Regions from separate parts of the Homo sapiens genome. Here region 1 is linked to region 2. Evidence: promoter capture Hi-C in human tissues and cell types (Jung and others, 2019). All regions are on one chromosome and are shown on one strand. Each heading gives the region's core, a stretch centred on a gene start or on the middle of the fragment in contact. The rest is flanking DNA. Distances are from core to core; before and after follow the strand shown.

Region 1 (6,019 bases), core at 3,413-5,912, 1.4 Mb after region 2:
AGCCCTTGGATTGATTATCCATTAAGAGTAAATTTGAAATCACAAACTGAACACCGAAAAATTATAAGCAACTTTTAACTAGAATGCACATTTAGATTTTAATTGAGCCATACTGAAATCATGGTTCTGGCTGATAAAAGTATCTCAAAAAATAAATTTTAAAAAGATTAGTAGAAAACAAATATATATGGGCACATTTAGCCCCAAGCTGCCAGTCCAAGTTGTAATAATAGTATAAAAATTAGTCTGTGGTATAACAAGCAAATGGTTGTAGACAGAACTGGGCAGTATTTTTAGACATAAACCCCAAGAGAATTAATTAAGCTTTGAAAAACATAATTGAACTAGGTATTTTTATAAACATACTAGAACATCTGATGCATACACACGTGAATGTGCAAAATAGCTAATTATATACACTGTTTATAAGTCTGTCTCAGCAATAAAGCAGAGATTCCTCTATTTGTGGCCCAGTGAAAAAATTTGTTGCTTCTTATCCTTTTGTTTTGGTCAACATTTTAATTGTTCAGTAGCACTTATGGCATGAAACACCGAGGGGAAAAATAAAAGCTGTAAAACTCATATTCATTAGATCTCACTTATAATTTTGGACTTGTTTTGCGAACTTCACAAACTATTTATGAACATGATATATAAAATTTTTTTAAGTGTTTCGAAAATGTAAGGGCTTTAACCAAAAGAAACTCCTGAAATATTATTTCCCTTACTTAATAATTTAAAAGTGGCTGAAAAATGAGAAGTGGTCCACATTTTCACTTTCTTATGAGAAGCCAGCCCTTCTCATTTGCTAGACATTCACAACTACATATTCACTTAGACTGAAGGTAGGATATAATTAATTCCTACATTTTTTAATGTATCCATTCCTTCTACTAGACTATGTACTTTTATGAAGAGGACTGTATCTCTATATTCAGTGTCTGGCACATAGTAGGTATTCAATAAAGGCCAAGAGGATATTGAAAAAATGATTGAACACATCCCCTTGGAAATGAAGTACATCAAAATACAAGTATTTTCAGTGCAATTCTCCCTAACACTATTTCTTGAAAGGCCAAATGGTGAATGGGGTAAGATGGGGTCTGGCCTATGCGAAGAATGAGTCATTAAATGGCCTTGCAGATAAGGACAGAAATGCAAGTTTTCAAAGGACTCCTTAGAGCTTCCATCATGAAACAAGGTCACAGGAAGCAAGGGATAATTGATAACATCTAAAACCTAGAACATAGGGTTTTGGGGTAAGATATGAGATAGCGGGTGATATGTTTGGATAAATAGAGTATTAGAAAGAGTTCAGATAGTTCATACTTTAAAGAACTTATTATACAAAACTAAAGAGTGAACAAAGAGAAGCTTAAGGTACAATCAGTATTATTGAGCAACAAAGTGATATAAATCTTATCTTCGTAGGTGGCCCAGAAAACAGATAGTTTTGAAGATTAAAAAAAAAAAGGGAGAGAAAGACCACAGAAAATTGCATTAGTGGAGTTTTCAGACCTGACCCAGTGGAATAAAAATGAGGAGAAAATGTTGAAGTGAGGTTAATGAAATATTTTGTAGTTAAGAGTTGAAAAGATATGATGGCTGGTTAGATACAGAATGAGAGAGAATTTAAGTTTAAAATGAACATTTTTGGTTTGGGAAACTAGATAGGTGGTGATCTGTTAAAAATATGAGAAGTTTAACAGGTGTGATTTTAGGAGAGGACGGAAAAAGGCACTTGGAATGTGGATCTGGAGCCAAAGAGAAGGCTGGGAAAAAAGGACTGGGAAAAAAGACCGAGAAGTCATTAGCATGTGTGGGGTGTAAGTGTGTGTGTGTGTGCGCGTTGGAAGTGGAAGCCATGGAGTGGATGAAACTTGCAGCCCTCCCTTTCTTCAGCTGATTTGTAGGTACAAATATTCTTCTGGAGTAGGTGAGGCATGGGGATATTTGGTGGTAAGAGATGAATCGGAATGGCTTTTTTCCCCAAAGGTCCTCTGCTACCTACTAGATCTGGAGGTACATAACACAATGATGAAGAATTCAGAAAGTCACAATAAGAACAACTAAAGTACATTTAATCACAGCCCTGCCCTTGAAAATACCCACCTGGCAAGCATAATGCTATACTGTGACTTTACAAGAAGTAATCATTCAATCTATCCTTGTAACAGCCAGGAAATGAGTAAGATGTTAAATACAAGTCACATCTTTTGTTAAAAATCTCCTGTATACATAGAACACTACAGAAATATATACCACACCAGAAAAAAGTTCAAAATTATTTTTCTCCCATGCTAGTTTATATGTAGTTTTGATAGTAAGTTAAAAAGGTATATACAACAGTTTTGCATTTTTCATAAACTATGGAAAAGTATTCATGCATTTGTTCATCCAAACAATGTTTATTGAATTTCAATATTTATAAGCAAAATATGGAAATCAGTGACAAACAAGATAGGCAAAATCTCTATGTTTATAGCCAAGAATACAGAGTCTCATCATAATTAATTAAGAAGTAGATATTTAATTATAATAGGTGCTACAAAGGAGAAGAGTAAGATGTAATTAAATATCTTACATGAGGATCTGACCTAGTCTAGGAGTCAGGTAAGACTTCCTTGAGGAAATGTCTTTTGAGCTGAATTCTAAGGAATCTTTAAAATTTATTGAGGCAAAAACTGGACAAGAACTTATCAGAGAGAGAGAATAGCTTGTGTGAAAGCACTGAGCTGGGAGCAAGCACAATACCTTCCAGAAAATGAAAAATCCAAATGTGGTTGAAGCTCAGTGAAATGGAACAGAGGAACAAAGGATAGGTTGGATTAGGGAGGAAAGTGTCAAATCCTGCAGGGTCCTGCAGGTCAGATCGAGGATTTGATCTTGAAGATGTACTGGTTATTCTTCATGTTGTCTGCTCAGCTCTGTTATTCATGATGACCCCTGCAGTGAATTACCCAATTTCCTTGTTCTGTTTCCAGTTAGGTTCCAACAGGAGGCACTGACGCATCAGAGACTGGAGGAGAGATGAAACTCAAAAACTCAAGGTACTTCCGCTCCACTTCCTCCCTGTTTCATGGCAGTATCGCTAGTGGTGATTTGTCTCTCCACAATTACCACTCCTGCTGTGTGCTCCGTCCTCCTTGGGATAGCTCTCAAAGATCTCTAGTAATAAAACTTCTTCCCCTTCTCCCTTCCCCCTTCCCCCTGAGGGTAGTAGCAAATAACTTTCACTTCTGTCTTTATGTTCCTCAGTGTCTCCTATTGGTCCTCTTAACTGCAACCACACTGTAAAGTGATTCTTTTATTATAATCTCTATATTTGAACTTTTTGAGCTGAAGTCTGTTTCCTGCTGGGATCATGACTGACCCTTCACAGTACAGCCAAAATCTATTTGTACTTTTCAGTTGATCACTCTGGCTGTTGTGAGGAAAATGGATTGGATTGGAGTGAGCGAGAGTAATGCCAGGAGATGGAGAGAACTGGACCATCTACTTGGGAAGGAAAAGTCAAGATTTGGTCATAGAGGGCCATAGTCAAGATGGGCTATAGAGGTGAATAAGAGAGAAGATTCAACAATTGCTCTGTTCAGTAATCAAAAGAAACAAATACTGGTTTCAAGGAATCAGAAAATGCACATGTTCCAAAATTGCTTACGATACTGATAAGGATGACTGGAAACATCTTAAGCCTTTCTTCTGGTCCATATCTGCAAACTTTCTATATCTTGAATCCTGCAAAAAGTTTTAAAACCAGGCCCCCCAAAAACTTAAAAATAGCATTTTAGCATCAGGCAATATTTGCAGAGTACCTATGTGCAAGGCACTCTGGAAGATACTAAAAAGAGTCATCAAAGAAGAATGGTTAGGAATCTGGACTCTGAAAGCAGACTACCTTGGTTTAATTAACAGCCATGGATTTGCAGAAAAGAAGAGAAAGAAGGAAGGGAGACAAGGGTAAGCCACAAGGAGGGTAATGGGAAAACCTTGCTTATCCTTTACTCCCTTCCTAAACATATGTCTCTCTTCCTTTTCTGGTAACCTATCTCTTTGGTACATATTTATATATAAAGTTGTAGTCCAAATGGTAAGTGATCTGGAGGGATTTTCAGGAAATAACATAATAAGAAACAATGTTTTGAATTTTGAGGGCTGTGAAGTGTTCCGAAATGATTTTCAAATGGCTAAACTTAGCTAACTTATTGAGCTCTTTTTGTATCAGGGACTATGCTAAGAGCTTTACAGATAAGCATATTAACCCATTTATGCTGGAGGTTGCAAATTTTTGTGTGTGTGTGAGAAATCAGACCTTGATGATGACCTTGAGCAGTAGGATATAAATAATTCCCACAAGCTTAGCATTCCAATAATGGAACACTAGGCATAAAGGGGTTATCTCATAATGCTTCCAACACCTCTATTTCCTTTCTCACAAAGGAAAGCCTACAGATACCAATGTATTTGAAATGGTTTTGATTTAGTCCTACCTAAGAGAAAGGAAGTTTCTACTAAACGGCAGAGCATGAGACATTTAATGCCTTCTTTTATTCTTGCTATGCCTTTTACACCTTTAGAGTTAGAAAGGACTCTAGGGATTAATTATTCCAAATTCTCAACTCCTTCTGTATCTCACAGATATAAAAACTAAGTCCCAGAGTACTGAGTACCAGGTTAAATTAACTAATAATTATCTGAGGTGGCACTTGAATTAACGATCTCACCATTCTCTTAAAGATTCAGTAATATGTTAGCTATCTGCATAGAAGTGCTGTGTAATCTTCCCCAGTCTTCTAGAATCATGTTTCAAAACTTTAATTATATCCAAATTTAAATTATATTTTGTTAAATAATTTTTGCTTCCATCAGCATTCTCTTTTTAAGATTACCTAGATTGCTATGATAGGAAAAATAACATCTTATAAGCCATGAACCTACATGTCAATAACAGTTAACATTCCACTTGGAAAAGCAAACTACTAAAGCCGAAATTGAGCAAGCTTCTAAGAAAGCCAATGCATGTATTTTATATCAAAGTGACTAAAGATAAATTCACAATCTTTTATAAACTACAGTTTTACTAAATTTGTTCGTCTTTGCTCTCAGAGAGTAGACTTGAGAAAATTCATTTTTAACCATATGTTATTTGCATCTGTGTGGTAGGGACAGCTGCATATTAATTCAATTACCTTTCTTTTTCTTTGTGGGCACACAGCTCCCAAGGGATGTTTCCCAGCTTTCCTTGCAGCTGAGAGTAAGGTGGAATAGTAACCGATACCTCAAGAAAGAAGTATGCATATTTTTCAGTTTTCAGTCTCTCTTTTTCCTGCCTCCACATTATTTTTAGACCATTGCAAGAGAGTGCTAGAGACAGAAGGTCCTGTTTCTTGAAGGACAATTTGCTTTTGTCTTCTCATCTCTGACCTATTGCAATCAGCTCTAAACATCCTTCTCATATTCCATCCTTCACACTCTCTTTCTTTTCCTCTCTCATCTCTTCCTCTCTTCATCTTTTCTATTGTTCATGTGCAACTTTGTAATCTATCGTCATGGTAACAAGTATTATGTCTGGCCCAGAGCCACGTGAAGACAGAGCAGCTTCTATCTTTGGTGTGTCTCCACTTTTGCTTTGTTCATCTCTTTACCTATTTGATATTTTACCCCAGTCAGCCCCTCTCGGGCTTCCATGATGACCCAGTACCTTCTTTTCTCATTCCAAGAGACCCCCATTATGGGTCTTTCTTCTTTCTCAGGGATACTGGAAATAACATGGATCAATCTTTCCTTCATGGCAGGCTTTTTATTCAAAACAAGATTTTATTGTGTGGTATTCAGTTTCTTCGGGTTTGCTAAGTGGTTTGAAGAAAGACAATAAACTAAACTCATCTCTGCTGTAATTTTAATGGCCTACTGTGTTTTTTCTCCTTATGGGGTTGTTTTTTAACACTGGATTCTCAGATTTAAATACAATGAATGCATATGTAATGATGGAATTCCAGTGTGATTGGCCAAGATGAGA
Region 2 (5,841 bases), core at 1,051-3,550:
TATGGTAATCAAAATCACATTTGAATAATATTAAAGTTAAGGGAAAACATTGCACCTTCTATAATGCCAAGTGGAAAAATATCAGTATCCCAAAGTATCTCGAATTAGTAAAATATATTGAATTTATAACTGCACAGGGAAAAAAAGACTGGAAAGAAATAGATGAAAATGCTAACAGTATGGTAACGTGGAGTGATTCGAATTTTCTCTTTTTTGAAATTTTTTTTTCCAAAATTTCTAGGATGAGTATATGTTACTTATTAATGAAATGAATTCTATTTCCGAAAGCATGATTAAGAGAATTGTGTGTTCGCACAGGCTCCCGCCTATTTCTGTGTGCAATGAGGGGCGAAATAAAGTGTTGGAATAATCACTGGGGATTATCCTTTAGGATTACTGAATTTATGTTTAGGTTGGCATTATTCAATCGGGTTCCTCGCCTCAGTTACCCACTCCTTTCTGAAAGACCCCAGTTCTGGTACTAGCACGTCACCTAGAAGGAAGAATCCTGGAATGGCACGGGTCCAAACTAGAGGCGGCCTCTCAGCATGGACCCGCTTCAACCTCATCTGCATGGCAGGCGTTTTGCAAGGCGTCAGAAGGCATCTCCTCTTTGGACTTTTTGTCTCCCCTGGTAGTCTCTAGAAGCCATTAGAGTGAAAGCTATCTTTCCTACCTACAGCTAAAAATGTAAAAGTGAGCGCGCTCAGGCGGCCCTGCTCCTAGAAAGATCCAGGCCCCTTCATACCCCAACCCCTGGCCGGGGACAGTTGGTAGCGGTGGCTGGTGGCGAAGCTGCAGGGCGCCCAAGGCCCCCTGCGGCCCAGGAGTGACCCGAGTGCACTCGCCCCTTACTCTGGCCTGGGGCCTGAAGAAGGCACTGGAACACGGAAGCTGATGCTGCACTTTAGATGCAAAGCGTAGATTTGCACTCTGGCTAAGGCACTGAATGAACACCACTGTGGCCCTGGGACAAGGAGCTGTGGTCCGTCTGGGATCAACTAGGTGGCGAAGGGGAGGGAGAAAGGAAGAGAGAGGGCTTGCGCGCGGGAGAGAGGAAGGGACGGGAGGGAGAGGGAATGGAAGACAGGAAGGGTGTCCCTTCTCAGAGGTCGCACTTTGTCAGCAGTTCCTCTCGACTGCTCTGCCTTCCATTTTTCCTTTCCTCAGTTCCTGGACAAGCCTCGGAGGACCAGGCAGAACCCTCTGGCTAGCAGAAAAGCTCGCACCCCCGCACCCTTGCGGCGTCTGCTTCAGACCCTCCACGCAGGCGCCCGCTGGAGCGCCTGCTGGGGATGGCGTACCACCGACCCTTCAGGCTTTTTAAAAACGTAAGAATTTCTACTTTATTATCTCTATGAAAAAAAAAATGTAAAGAAGAGAGGTTAGATTTTATAGAAGCTCCAAAGTCTGCCATTTGCGAGGAGGGTTCACTTCCCACCCACCCAGCCCACGGAAGCTCTTAGGAGCAGCCTGAACGGCCCCGACTCAGCCTCACGCTCTCTGACTTCCCCGCTCGCCCCTGACCCCGACTTCACTTAGGGCGGTCGCGTAGATATGAACTCTACAGCAGCCACTCTGCTCAGCGCATGTGGGGATCTTACAATCTCGACCCCGACCTCCAGAAGACCAGACGTTCTGTCTTGGGGCCTCCCTCCCGGCCCTTTAGCCTCACCCAGTGCCCGGTCCTGACACACCCCAGCACTACCAGACGAGGAAGGGCAGACTCTCCACACCAGGCTCAGCCGCTTTCCTTCTTCTCACAGCTCTCCAAGAGCTCGGTCATGAAGGAGATATAGACGATGGCCAGGCGGAGGGTCTCGATCCGGGACAGCCTTTTCTCGTAAGCAAACGTGGGCACCTTCCTCCGCAGCTGGTCAAAGGCCTCGTTGAGGTTGAACATCCGCTTCCTTTCGCGGATGTTGGCGGCCTGGCGCTGGGCGTAGGTGATCACCCTTTTCCTCTTGGGGCGGCCTAATAGGGAGACACCTCTTCCGCGCTCCTCTTCCTCCTCCTCTTCTCCGTCCCCCTGGTCCACTTCGCACTCCTCTTCTTCTGGGTCCCCCTCTTCAAACCGCGCCATCCTCCTGGGTCTTCCCTCTCGGAGCGCAAGGGCTGGGTCCCCCAAGGAGACCCCGGGTGCGAAGTCGCAGAGGAGAGGGCGTCTCGGGGAGGCCAGGGACAGGTCTGCGACGAAGTCCAGCACCGTAGTGTCCACGCAGCTCTCCGGATAGGCCGCCATCGCTTCGGCTTGGCCCTGCCTCTCATCGGTTTTCCGCAGGGAGGGGCGAGGTTGCTGGTGGGGATTCTTAACAGCCTTGAATCTGATGGGGCACCATCACCGAAAGGCCAGGGAACATTAAATATTTATAACCAAGCTGATAACAGGATTAGTCGCACCGATAAGGAATGCTCTGACAACGTCCCTTCTCTCGAAGCTTATGGAAGATGACAAGCTTGAGCACGCATGGAAGACTCAAAGGGACAGGGCTCCAGTTCTGAGATCCTTTTCTCTGCGCCACCCGGGACAGTTCCTTGTTGGCAACAACCCCCAGCTCTTACCTGCTGTGCTTTTTGTGTCTGTCTTCACCCCTGCAGCCAACTAATGTTCTCCAGGCTCCTTATCTCGTGTAGTTCTTTAATTTCGTGTTGGATTTTCAAAGCGAGGATGTTTTCCACCGCGATGGCTTCTCCTTGACTTCAGGGTAGGAGTCTTGAATCTTGCCACCATCTGCCAATGGATGTGGAGCAAGTGCATGTGCTTTTAATGATGTCCTGAAGAGGGGCCCTGCCTGCCTGGCATCAAGGGGAGCTGTTTGTCTGGTATCCCAGTGCAGCGGCTGCTGAAAGGCAAGACCTTCAATTAGCTTAAGTAAGCATGGCAGGGGGACCGAGAGTGCATTCCCCAGAGTCGCTGTTGGAACCGGCTTTCTTTTCTTTCCAGGGCATCGCAAACAGCTCTCCTGCCACGTTACAAACCCTGACTTCTAAAGTCTGTTTGGATGCAATCAGCGTAACAATTGAGATACTTGACTTTCCTTTCCCTACCTTTACCTCCTACTCATATAAAATAGAGGATTTTATTCCAAGAGGAAAAGTTATGATGGCAATAAAATGAGAAATTTAAGCTCAGGATATTTTCTATGCTCGGGCTTTGCTGTATACTTTTCAGTGTGGGGGACAAAGCAAACTCTCCTCACAAACAAAACCACTTCAAGCTCTTTTCAGAAATGCGATTTGCCCTTGATAAGCCAAAGAGTCAATCAGCTCACCCTCTGCTGAGGAGTCTTCGGACTTTTAAATTGCGGATCGAGTATTTGTTCCCGAACAAAGAAAAAAACCTAACACTTCCATCTGGCGTATTTTCCTCATTGATTTGTATTGTCCTACAGTAAGACTTAAGTGCAGAAACAATGATTTATTGAAATATATTTAAGGGAGTTTTTGGCTATCGTTAGATCGTTATTTTTGAGAAAAGAAAGAGATTTTAAATTTGGCATAAGAAAAATAAGAGATTACTCATTTTATATTATCTCGAGTATCCCAAATATTTTAACAAAAAGGTTCTTTTTCTTTGTTTGCCAATAACTATATTTACTTAATTATTCAGTACTGTGTAAAGATTTATTTAAAAGACCCATTGTGTCAAAGTGACAGATTAGAAGATAATTTTAAAGGTAGATTGGAAGAAATAGCCTAAAAAGATGAATGTAGAAACATCCCGGTTCAAAAGAGAACTGCCCAGGACGTCAGTCCCTATTAAGGGGGTAAGTTGTGGTTATGATGGTTCACTCAGTACATTGGACAGCTCCCAGAAACCAGAAACCGCCTATTTCTAACAGGTAATCTCAATTCATTTTCTTCTTCCTAGCCTCTATGTGTGTAATCAAAACAGTATAACCTTTAATTCTTCTTCTTCTTTTAACCCATTTGTGTCTGGTGTCTCTCGATCTTTTAATAGATTTTATCTTCTTTTGCTTGTGTTTACTCTTCATTCTCCAGTTTGAATTGTGATAACTCAGGCAGAGAATAATTGAAATTTGTGATCCTGGAAGATGTTAAAGAGAATGAGATCTTTGGTTGTTACTTAGTTGATTTTTGCTAAGCATCTTTCAAAGGGAAGGCTGAAAAATAAATAATAGGATTGTCAACAGTGGCTATGAAGCTAGTAAATGGGAGAACTGATTTTTGTTTCAAAAAAGTAGTAACATGCTTGCTAACCCTCGTTTAAATTAATATGTTATTAAATATTTGGACAAATTTCTTGTTGATTTTTAAATTATGTTAAATGCTTCTCAGTGACTTATTTTGTATTCATTTACAATCTATTTGCAAGTGGATTAAACACCTCAGTCAATTGAGAATCTAGTTTCGCAATATAATACACTGGAAAACAATGAAGGAAAACATGGTTGATATTTAAATTTAAAATTTCATAAAATGGGGGTCAGAAGCCTTCATGAGACTAAAGAGATAGTTTCATTGGACTGAACTCCTTTATGATTTTAGCCAAGGCAATGTACCTTTCTTGCTTGCCTTCCTTCCTTCCTTCCTTCCTTCTTTCTTTCCTTCCTTCCTCTCTCCCTCCCTCCCCCTTACTCCTTTTTCTTTCTTTCTTTCTTTCTTTCTTTCTTTCTTTCTTTCTTTCTTTCTTTCTTTCTTTCTTTCTTTCTTTTTCTTTCTTTCTTCTTTCTTTCTCTTTCTTTCTTTCTTTCTTCTTTCTCTCTTTCTTTCTTTCTTTCTTTTTCTTTCCTCCTTCTCTCTTTCAACAGAGCCTCACTCAGTCATCGAGGCTGGAGCGCAGTGCTACAATCATAGCTTACTGTGCCTCAAACTCCTGGGCCCAAGCAACTCTCCTGCCTCAGCCTCCCGAGTACCTAGGACTGCAGGCACTGGCCACCTCATCAAGCTAAAGGTTTTGTTCTTTAGAGAGGAGGTCTAACTATTTTGCTCAGGCCTCAACCAGTCCTCTCACCTTGACCTCCCAAAGTGCTGAGATTACTGGCCTGAGCCACTGCAGCTGGCAGAGAATGGAGATTTCAATAATCATATCACAAAAGGAACTGTAGCAAAAGTAATGGAACCAGTGCCTAGAACTGGGTTGAAATACTTGTATTAAAGTATTAGGAATTTTTTAAATGTCCTAATAGGTACACCTACAGCAATTATTTTAAAATATTTTCTTTTTTATTTCATCATAAAAATCCCAGGATAAACACTTCTGTTTATACCACCTTAATTTCTGTTTATCTTACAAGGTTATAATCATGCTAATATAATTAAAGCAAAAAATGTTAAAATCTAAGTTATGAGTGTTTTTATTTATAATTATAATTAGTTATATAAATTAACAGTTACAGTTATTTCATTTATAATTATAATTAATTATAGGAATAACTGAAATTCTTTTTCTCTGCTTATTGTGAAATGGTCATTTTATTTTTAGAAGACTTTTGTGGGTATTTGGTTCCACAGTAAATATATATGGCAAAAGCAGTAAATTTATAAAGTACCAAGTGATGTTACAGTTCATCCTATTGGAAGGAATCATTATTTTCATTTCTAGATTTGAAAGTTAAGAGAGAGATGTTTTTTAAAAACTCAATTGAGGATTAAAAGAAGCTAAGTTCAACCTTGATTCCTCTGTGTTCTAGGCCTATAGTTTACAGTTATTCAGTGACCTATAGGGAGGCATTTATAAAAAGTTTGATAACTCCTCACAAATTTTACTCAAAATATTTCAAGAAATGATTATGAAATGACAATCAGTTTTGCTTATTTGATTATCTAGTTTATTTCTATTGACCATTCCTATTAGACATAAAACATTTTGTTTATACT

The links. Contacts are between HindIII fragments. The study calls those that stand out against the background at their distance.
Region 1: a contact is called between a fragment that was not itself captured here and the fragment with the promoter of FERD3L in region 2, in 1 of the 25 tissues and cell types used here (dorsolateral prefrontal cortex).

What each region holds. Positions count from the first base shown.
Region 1 is chr7:20,505,218-20,511,236 of GRCh38, forward strand. No RefSeq gene overlaps it. Among named protein-coding and RNA genes, the nearest start is that of ABCB5, 110 kb to the right of the region's middle. The HindIII fragment of the contact is 3,595 bases long and covers 2,866-6,019 here.
Region 2 is chr7:19,143,121-19,148,961 of GRCh38, forward strand. It overlaps FERD3L (Fer3 like bHLH transcription factor), which reads right to left and starts at 2,301. Exons shown (of 1, transcript NM_152898.2): 1 at 1,662-2,301. The coding sequence starts at 2,242. The coding sequence ends at 1,742. RefSeq lists enhancers at 1,034-2,233, 2,699-3,347. The HindIII fragment of the contact is 11,409 bases long and covers 1-5,841 here.